3 separate regions of the Homo sapiens genome follow, and regions 2 and 3 are each linked to region 1. Evidence: promoter capture Hi-C in 16 types of primary human blood cells and fetal thymus (Javierre and others, 2016). All regions are on one chromosome and are shown on one strand. The core of a region is centred on a gene start or on the middle of the fragment in contact, and the rest is flanking DNA. Distances in the headings are between cores, read along the strand shown.

Region 1 (2,600 bases), core at 31-2,530:
GGGAACAGAAAACAAAGGGCCTGCTGAGATTTCCGCCAGTAGGAGCTACGGAGGACCGAGCGAGGGAGGGAGGCACGGCGGGAGGGAGCACCGGAGGCAGGCGTCTCAGAGGTACTATCCCTGCCAGGCCCTCGATCCCCTCGTCCCAGCAAACAGCCAGGCAGTGGCCGACTCGGCCTTCCCCTGCGCTCTGGGGGCATGACCTCCGAAGAGTCGGGGCTCCTTCACCCTGCTTCCCACACCCGGGCCTGAGGGGTTCCCTGCGTGAGCAGGAGATTCAAGACATACAGGGCGCCCAGAAACTTGATGGATGCCCAAGAGCCAAGGGCTAACCTGCGTCCTGAGAGGGCAGCGGGAGTTCAGTAACAACACGAGTGCGACCCCCTTCTTCATGACTTATGGACCACCCGCCTTACTCCAGCCCCCGGGAGAGAGGGGAGCCGCCTAGAGGGGTCCTTCTTCGGGGGAGGATTCAGTCCTTCCTCCATTGTGTGATCATAAGCAGTCCGGGTTTAAATCCTAGTTAAGCCTTTAAGTAACTATGTGACCCTGGGCAAGTCGCAGCCTTTCTTTGAATCTCGTTTCATGATCTGTGAAATGGGAGAACAATAGCTACCGTTCTCTGAACGTTCGAAGAATCAGAAGAGGTTAGATGGGGGAAAGCTCCGGAGGCTCAAACTGCCACGCGGGAGCGGGTTTTGTCCTCTTCCCCCAGGATTCAAAGTTCAAGGCTGAGGCCGCGCCGGCTCTCAGGTGACGGGGAAGGGCCTCTTCCCCTCCTGACCCCACGAGAAGGCGCCGAGGTCTTCCGCCCCGGGCCGGGCAGTTGGGACCCGCCCGGACCCCTCGGATTCCTGCGGGGGGGGCCTCCCTCGGGGCTTGACGTCATCCCTCCCCGTGACGTCACGGGGCGCCCCTGAGGTCACAGGGTCGCAGCGCAGACAAAGGCCCGCCTTGCCCCGGGCCCGAGACCCTCCCCAGGCGGCGCCCCCCGCCCCGCCCCGCCCCCGCTGTCCCCTGCTCCCCGGCCAGCACCTGAGGAACTCCTGCAGGCAGGTATCGCAGAAACGGTGGCCGCAGGTGGAAACCTGCACAGGCTCGCGCATGGGCTTCCCGCACAGTGGGCACAGCAGCCGTCGCTTGGGCTTCTCCAGGAACTTGTAGTCGAAGCCAGGCATGGCGGGCGAGCGGCCGGCACGGGCGAGCGGGGCCAGGCACGCGGCGGCCCCACAGCCCGCGCCTCGCTGGAGCGGCGCTCCCGGCTCCGGGCGGCGCCGACTGGCGGTCGCGGCCAGGGCTCGGCTGTGAAGCCCGCCCTCCGGAAGAGAGGGCGGACCGCGGCCGCGCGGTCCTAATGCGCGCCCTCGCGGCCCCGCCCACCCCCGAGTGCATGGTTTTTGGGTCTGGTGACCGCCAGTCTCGCCCACCCACGGGATCATGGGCTTTTCTTTCCCCTGGGGGACAGAGATCGTGGCTCCGCTTCTCCCCAGAGCCCGCGGGCCCCGGGGAAGTGCGGGTCGGAAAAGGGGACGGGCCGCGCCACAAAGGTTTTCTTCTCCAGAGGCAACAGCTCGGCCTCCGGGGCCGTGAGCAGCCCAGGAACCGTGGCCCCAGCTTCCAGGTGCTAGGCAGCCGAAGCCTGGCAACCAGCTCCGGGGAGCCCAGCTGGGGCGGGGAGGCTGGACTGGGCGCTGGGCCAGAGGAACCTCGGCCCCAGCCTCCGGCTGCGCCCACATTCCTCCCTTGGCCGCAGCCCTGCCACCGAGGTCGGGCCCAGCCCAGTCCTGGGGTGCCTGGTCGCCACCCCCACCCTTGAAGACACCACACTCCAGGCAGGCAGCTGATATTTTTATTGGCCTTCCTGTCCTCTGGGAAACCGGTCTGGTCCCACCAGCTACCCATTCTCTCAACTGTTTCTGGGGAAAGGCATGGGGGGGACGGGCAATCTCCAGCGCGGATCTTTTCTGCAGCACTTAGTGACTCCTGCCCTCCTGCTGGGGAAGAGAGGCAAGCCGACGTCTAGCAAATCCTGCCTCAGGATGAAAGTGTAGGGGAGGTGGCAGCACTCCCGGGGACCGCCCAGCCCCGGGCTATGCAGAAGCTAGGCAGGCCTAATGGCCAGTCCAGGCAGGCCCTGGCTTGCCCTGCTCCAAAGTATGGAGATAGAGTCCCGGTAAGCACCAAATACTTTTTTTTTTTTTTTTTTTTTTTTTTTTTTGAGAGGGAGACTTGCTCTGTCATCCAGGCTGGAGTGCAGTGGTGCGATCTCGGCTCACTGCAAACTTCACCTCCCGGGTTCAAGGGATTCTCTTGCCTTAGCCTCCAGAGTAGCTGGGATTACAGGCGCCCGTCACCATGCCTGGTTAATTTTTGTATTTTTAGTAGAGACGGGGTTTCACCATGTTGGCCAGGCTGGCCTCAGTCTACTGACCTCAAGTGATCCGCCCGCCTTGGCCTCCCAAAGTGCTGGAATTACAGGCGTGAGCCACCGCACCCAGCCTTATTTTCTTCTTTTTTTTTTTTTTTGGTGGAGACAGCGGTCTCGCTATGGTCCCCAGGCTGGTCTCCCAACTCCTGGCCACAAGGGATCAAGGGATCCT
Region 2 (2,600 bases), core at 29-2,528, 210 kb before region 1:
ACATTCTAGAACCATTTATGCATGCATGCATTGATTAATTCATTCAAAAAACATGTATGGAGTACCTTCTGTGTACTAAGCACAAAACCAGGCAGTGGGAACAGGATGGTAATCAAGATGGCCTCCTGAGCATAATAGGGATGGATGCTCTTGGCTGTCCCTCCTCCATCACATTCCTGCTCCAACCCCAGGACATATATTTGTCATTCGTACCCAGGAAAAGAAAGGCTCTGGGGAGGGAAGTAGGGGGATGCTTGCCCACTGTGTTTAATACCAGTCAAGGCTGAGCTGGGCTGGGACCTGTGGTTTACAGCCTTCCAGCAGGGCCATTGCTATGAGCCCTTTGTCAAATACGGTAACTTCAGCAGCAGCACACCCACCTACCCTGTGGGTACCACTGTGGAGTTCAGCTGCGACCCTGGCTACACCCTGGAGCAGGGCTCCATCATCATCGAGTGTGTTGACCCCCACGACCCCCAGTGGAATGAGACAGAGCCAGCCTGCCGAGGTCAGTAGACACCAGTGGATGGGCCTACCGGGCAAAAGGCAGGGTCATACCAGGAGAATAGCAGCAGAGCCCGGGGCCACAGGGGCCCTGTGATATGCGTGGTTCAGGCTTCCTCCAAGGAGGAGGTGGGGGGTCCCAGCAATTTGTGGGCACTCCTGCGGGCAGATGGTAAGCAACACCATGGTAAGCTTGAAAAGACCCTTCTGGGCCTCCTCTGCCTTCCAGCCGTGTGCAGCGGGGAGATCACAGACTCGGCTGGCGTGGTACTCTCTCCCAACTGGCCAGAGCCCTACGGTCGTGGGCAGGATTGTATCTGGGGTGTGCATGTGGAAGAGGACAAGCGCATCATGCTGGACATCCGAGTGTGAGTGCCTACCGGGTCAGGCCGAGCCAACTCCTGAGGTCTGGGGATATCCCTTGTCCAGCCCATCCTCGGGCCCCCAGGCCGGCTCTGCCCTGACGCTCCTCCTTCACAGGCTGCGCATAGGCCCTGGTGATGTGCTTACCTTCTATGATGGGGATGACCTGACGGCCCGGGTTCTGGGCCAGTACTCAGGGCCCCGTAGCCACTTCAAGCTCTTTACCTCCATGGCTGATGTCACCATTCAGTTCCAGTCGGACCCCGGGACCTCAGTGCTGGGCTACCAGCAGGGCTTCGTCATCCACTTCTTTGGTGAGCTTGTCCCTACCCCACTCAGAGTGCAGACAGCAAGCCATGGCAAGCCAAAGAGGCTAGGGCAGTGAGGTGCCTGAATGCTGTCTCAGACAAGAGTAAGCTGGAAAAGCACCAGGGATCACCTGGAGGAAGCTAGTCCTGTTCTCCATCTGCCCTGAGGGAGAGCCAGAATTCTATAGTGGCAAGAGGGGTTTGGGTAGGCAGCAGAACAACTTTCTTTTTCTTCCTTTTTTTTTTTTTCTGAGACAGTTTCCCTCTGTCACCCAGACCATGGTGTGATCTCTGTTCATTGCAACCTCCACCTCCTGGGCTCAAGCGATTCTCGTGCCTCATCCTCCTGAGTAGCTGGGATTATAGGCACATGCCACCACGCCTGGCTAATTTTTTTATTTTTAGTGGAGACCGGATTTTGCCATGTTGGCCTGGCTGGTCTCGAACTCCTGGCTTCAAGTGATCTGCCCACCTCAGCCTCCCAAAGTGCTGGCATTACAGGTGTGAGCCACTGCACCTGGCCAGAACAACTTTCAAACAAAAATGGGGGAACTAAGGAAAGGTGCTGGCTTCTATCTTTCTGACAATCTTTCATAGAAGTGACGATTTCCCTCACCCTACCTGGCCCCATCTCTCAGGCCTAAGGAACTGGTCAAGGTGCTTTTGGAAGTAAGGCCAAAGCTTAAATGCTAACCCTGGAATCTAGGAGACAGAGCAATGTCAGGCAGTCAAGGAGGGGCCCTTGAGCAGGGAGGAATGGATCCCTGAGCCCGCCCAGGACAGTCTAGGTCCAGGACAAACTAGCAGGAGCCAGAGTGCCCTCAAGGTGAGGGGGACAGTCACTTTGGTGCTGGCCGAGGGCCTGCATCTTGTGCCTCTGTGCCCCCAGAGGTGCCCCGCAATGACACATGTCCGGAGCTGCCTGAGATCCCCAATGGCTGGAAGAGCCCATCGCAGCCTGAGCTAGTGCACGGCACCGTGGTCACTTACCAGTGCTACCCTGGCTACCAGGTAGTGGGATCCAGTGTCCTCATGTGCCAGTGGGACCTAACTTGGAGTGAGGACCTGCCCTCATGCCAGAGGGGTGAGTATACCTGTTCCCCACGCTCCCCTTCCCAACACAAACTCCAAACCTCTCTCCTGGATTCTGAACCAGACTGTAGCTGTTATTAGCTAGTATCTTCAAAGTTCCTTCACCTCTTATAGCCTCAGTTTCCTCATCTGTGAAATGGGGATGATACTTTTCATGGGGTTATCAGCCACGTACTCTAAGTATTTCATTCCTGGTAGATGGCCAATCAGTTTTTATCGAACCTAATAGATGGGAAGGGGACAAATGGGGGGACACACTAGCATAATGGTAGGGACAGATACGTAGGGGGTAGACCCATACGACATGAAGAAGTTAGCTGGCCTGGAACAAAG
Region 3 (2,600 bases), core at 36-2,535, 190 kb before region 1:
CATTTCATTAAATGTTGTTCCCTCAAGGCATGCACTTTAAAATTTGGGTGTATTAATGCAACTTTTAATTTAAATTAAAATTTAAATTAAACTTTACCCAGCACCACTTAGCTTTTCCAGGACATAAGTTTGTTTTCGTTTATAAAAGGCTGGTTCTCTGTGCTCATGGCTCCCTTTATAGAGCAAAATGGCTGCTAGGAGGCTGAGACATGATTGTGGTCCTTTCAGTGATCACCTTCACTCCCCATTTTGGCTAGTATCAACACATTTTCTGAGCTGGATGAGGGCCGCAGGGCCAGTCTGAGGGAGAGTAGGCTAGTTCTGAGCATGTATTTATGTTTTGCAGTTTGTCTTACACAGTGAGACTAAATATAATTGCAGGATTTTTATCTGGTAGTGGTCCTCAGATGGATGGATGAGCCCCGTGAACTGTGAAATTAAAAATCAAAACTGCTCAGTCCTATTGTTTGCTTGCTGAACACCTCTTCCCCCACCAAAAAAAAGGGTGGGGAGGCATACAGATGATGATAGGGGCAGTGAACTCTTTCTTTTTAGTCCAACTGATGTTTTATTTTGACTGAAACTGAAACTGCTATAGATGGCTAGAGAGCTTCTGATTCCTGAAGAATTACGGGTTCTGACAAGAAAGACCCTACCAGTTCATGTGACTGACCTCTTTTGGAAGAGAACCTGCTTAGTAGGCTGTTGGTGTATTGTATATGGATATGCTATTTACATAGTGTTCCTGTTAAGTATTTGTATTAAATAGAATTATTTTGTTAATCCAGAAAGAGAAAATGGAGTGTACTTTTTCTTAAATATTTTTCATCTACTTGCTTTCTCTCCCTCTACCTCTCGCCTCTTCCCTTTGTTCTCTTATTCCCCCATCCCCCGCTCTCCCCTCCAATTCCAGACTGAGAAACTGCTTGTTCTGGATGGATAATTAACATGGTGCTGTGGAGCAACAGGTCCCACTGGTAGCGACTAAATCTGAAGTAAATGTTAATGTCGTGCAGGTTCACATGTATTAATAGGCGAGGGAGATGAGTGAGGTTAGACTCAGATCAACCACACTGGTATATGACTTGAAATAGATCCTCTTAATTAGAGCGCCAAGAACCATGACAACTACCAACATCTTCTACTTGCAGTGTTGAGCTGCAGCCTTATTAGTGAATGCAAGGCATTCTAAATTAAAACTGAACTTTAACCTCGGGCTGAGAGTTGGGATCATCTGGCTCTGGGCTTCGATTTGAATCTTTGAAACAGAAATCTGTCAGTATAGGCATTACAGTTAGCTGAGGGATGTATGTTTGTGGTTTTCTCCTTGATGACTCCAGAAATAGACTGATCTAGATAACCTTCTCAGCAGTAGAGATGGGCCATTTGGATTTGTTTATGGGAGTCTAGGTATGTTGGAGTCATGCTGAAGAGGTTGGCTTTAGGAATTGGTTTGTATGTTAATATTACTCTTAACACTTTGTAGGCCCTCTAGGCCTCACAGAGAGCCACACCAAACTGAGAAACATACCCTCCAATTGAATGTACAGTCTCTGAAGATTTAGGGCTTTACTGTTATGAACAGCTTTATAACTAACAGCATGTCTTTAAGATCAGGTAGTGGTTAAAATAGTGAGCTGGGGCCAGGAGTGGTGGCTCACACCTGTAATCCCAACACTTTGGGAGGCTGAGGAGGGCGGATCACTTGAGGTCAGGAGTTCAAGACCAGCCTGGCCAACGTGGTGAAACCCCATCTCTACTAAAAAGACAAAAATTAGCCCAGTGTGGTGGTGCATGCCTGTAATCCCAGCTACTCAGGAGGCTGAGGCACAACAATCTCTTGAACCCGGGAGACAGAGGCTACAATGAGCTGAGATCGCACCACTGCATTCCAGCCTGGGCGACAGAGTGAGGCTCCATCTCAAAATAAAAAAATAAAATAAATAAAATAAAATAGTGAGTTGTAAAAGCAGTGAACGGTCGCTTTCTGGCCAGGAATTGTAGGCCAGGGCCTTTTAACAAATGATCTGGTAGGAAATTTATCAACAGCAGTGAAAATGGGAAGATACTCTGCAAGAGCTCTGTCTTCATAGGGCACTGTCATCTCTGCCTATGGAAAAGAATGCATGTCTCATAGCAATGCAGGCTATGCTCTTTTGAAGCCAGAAAATAAAGTAGAGGTCCTTGGCTTGTTGGCTAAAAAGCTACCAGTTTTCCAAGACAAGCCAGTTCAGGTACAGAAGACAACTATTCCAGAGCTCACCATCCCAAGTACTCAGATAATTCTCAGAAGGAATCTAAAGGTTCAAACATGCTGGACACAGTGGCTTACGCCTGTAATCTCAGCACTTTGGAAGGCATAGGCGGGTAGATCACCTTAGGTCAGGAGTTCGAGACCAGCCTGACCAAGATAGTGAAACCCTGTCTCTACTAAAAATACAAAAAGTAGCTGGGCGTGGTGGCGGGTGCCTGTAATCCCAGCTACTCCAGAGGAGAATTGCTTGAACTCGGGAGGCAGAGGTTGCAGTGAGCAGAGATCGCACCATTGCGCTCCAGCCTGGGCAACAGAGCAAGACTCCATCTCAAAAAAAAAAAAAAAA

The links. The method cuts DNA at HindIII sites, captures the fragments that hold promoters and counts their contacts. A CHiCAGO score of 5 or more calls a contact.
Region 2: a fragment that was not itself captured here is called in contact with the fragment with the promoter of TRAF4 in region 1 in 2 of 17 cell types (endothelial precursors and fetal thymus); the score reaches 5.8 in endothelial precursors.
Region 3: a contact is called between a fragment that was not itself captured here and the fragment with the promoter of TRAF4 in region 1, in 9 of 17 cell types (activated CD4 T cells, naive B cells, non-activated CD4 T cells and 6 more). The highest score is 11.0, in activated CD4 T cells.

Annotation. Positions count from the first base shown.
Region 1 is chr17:28,742,691-28,745,290 of GRCh38, reverse strand. It overlaps TRAF4 (TNF receptor associated factor 4), which reads right to left and starts at 1,280. Exons shown (of 7, transcript NM_004295.4): 1 at 1,036-1,280. The coding sequence starts at 1,178. NEK8 (NIMA related kinase 8) reads right to left here. Exons shown (of 15, transcript NM_178170.3): 15 at 1,836-2,600. RefSeq lists silencers at 802-1,001, 1,022-1,431, 1,886-2,180 and enhancers at 1,886-2,180, 1,204-2,204. The HindIII fragment of the contact is 4,112 bases long and covers 1-2,600 here.
Region 2 is chr17:28,957,606-28,960,205 of GRCh38, reverse strand. SEZ6 (seizure related 6 homolog) reads left to right here. Exons shown (of 17, transcript NM_178860.5): 8 at 314-508; 9 at 734-872; 10 at 985-1,181; 11 at 2,065-2,259. All of the region lies in intron 1 of LOC105371716 (a long non-coding RNA gene), which reads right to left. Among named protein-coding and RNA genes, the nearest start is that of PHF12, 7.4 kb to the right of the region's middle. RefSeq lists enhancers at 257-757, 758-1,258. The HindIII fragment of the contact is 1,160 bases long and covers 699-1,858 here.
Region 3 is chr17:28,934,613-28,937,212 of GRCh38, reverse strand. All of the region lies in intron 2 of PHF12 (PHD finger protein 12), which reads left to right. All of the region lies in intron 1 of LOC101927018 (a long non-coding RNA gene), which reads right to left. Among named protein-coding and RNA genes, the nearest start is that of PHF12, 16 kb to the left of the region's middle. The HindIII fragment of the contact is 7,754 bases long and covers 1-2,600 here.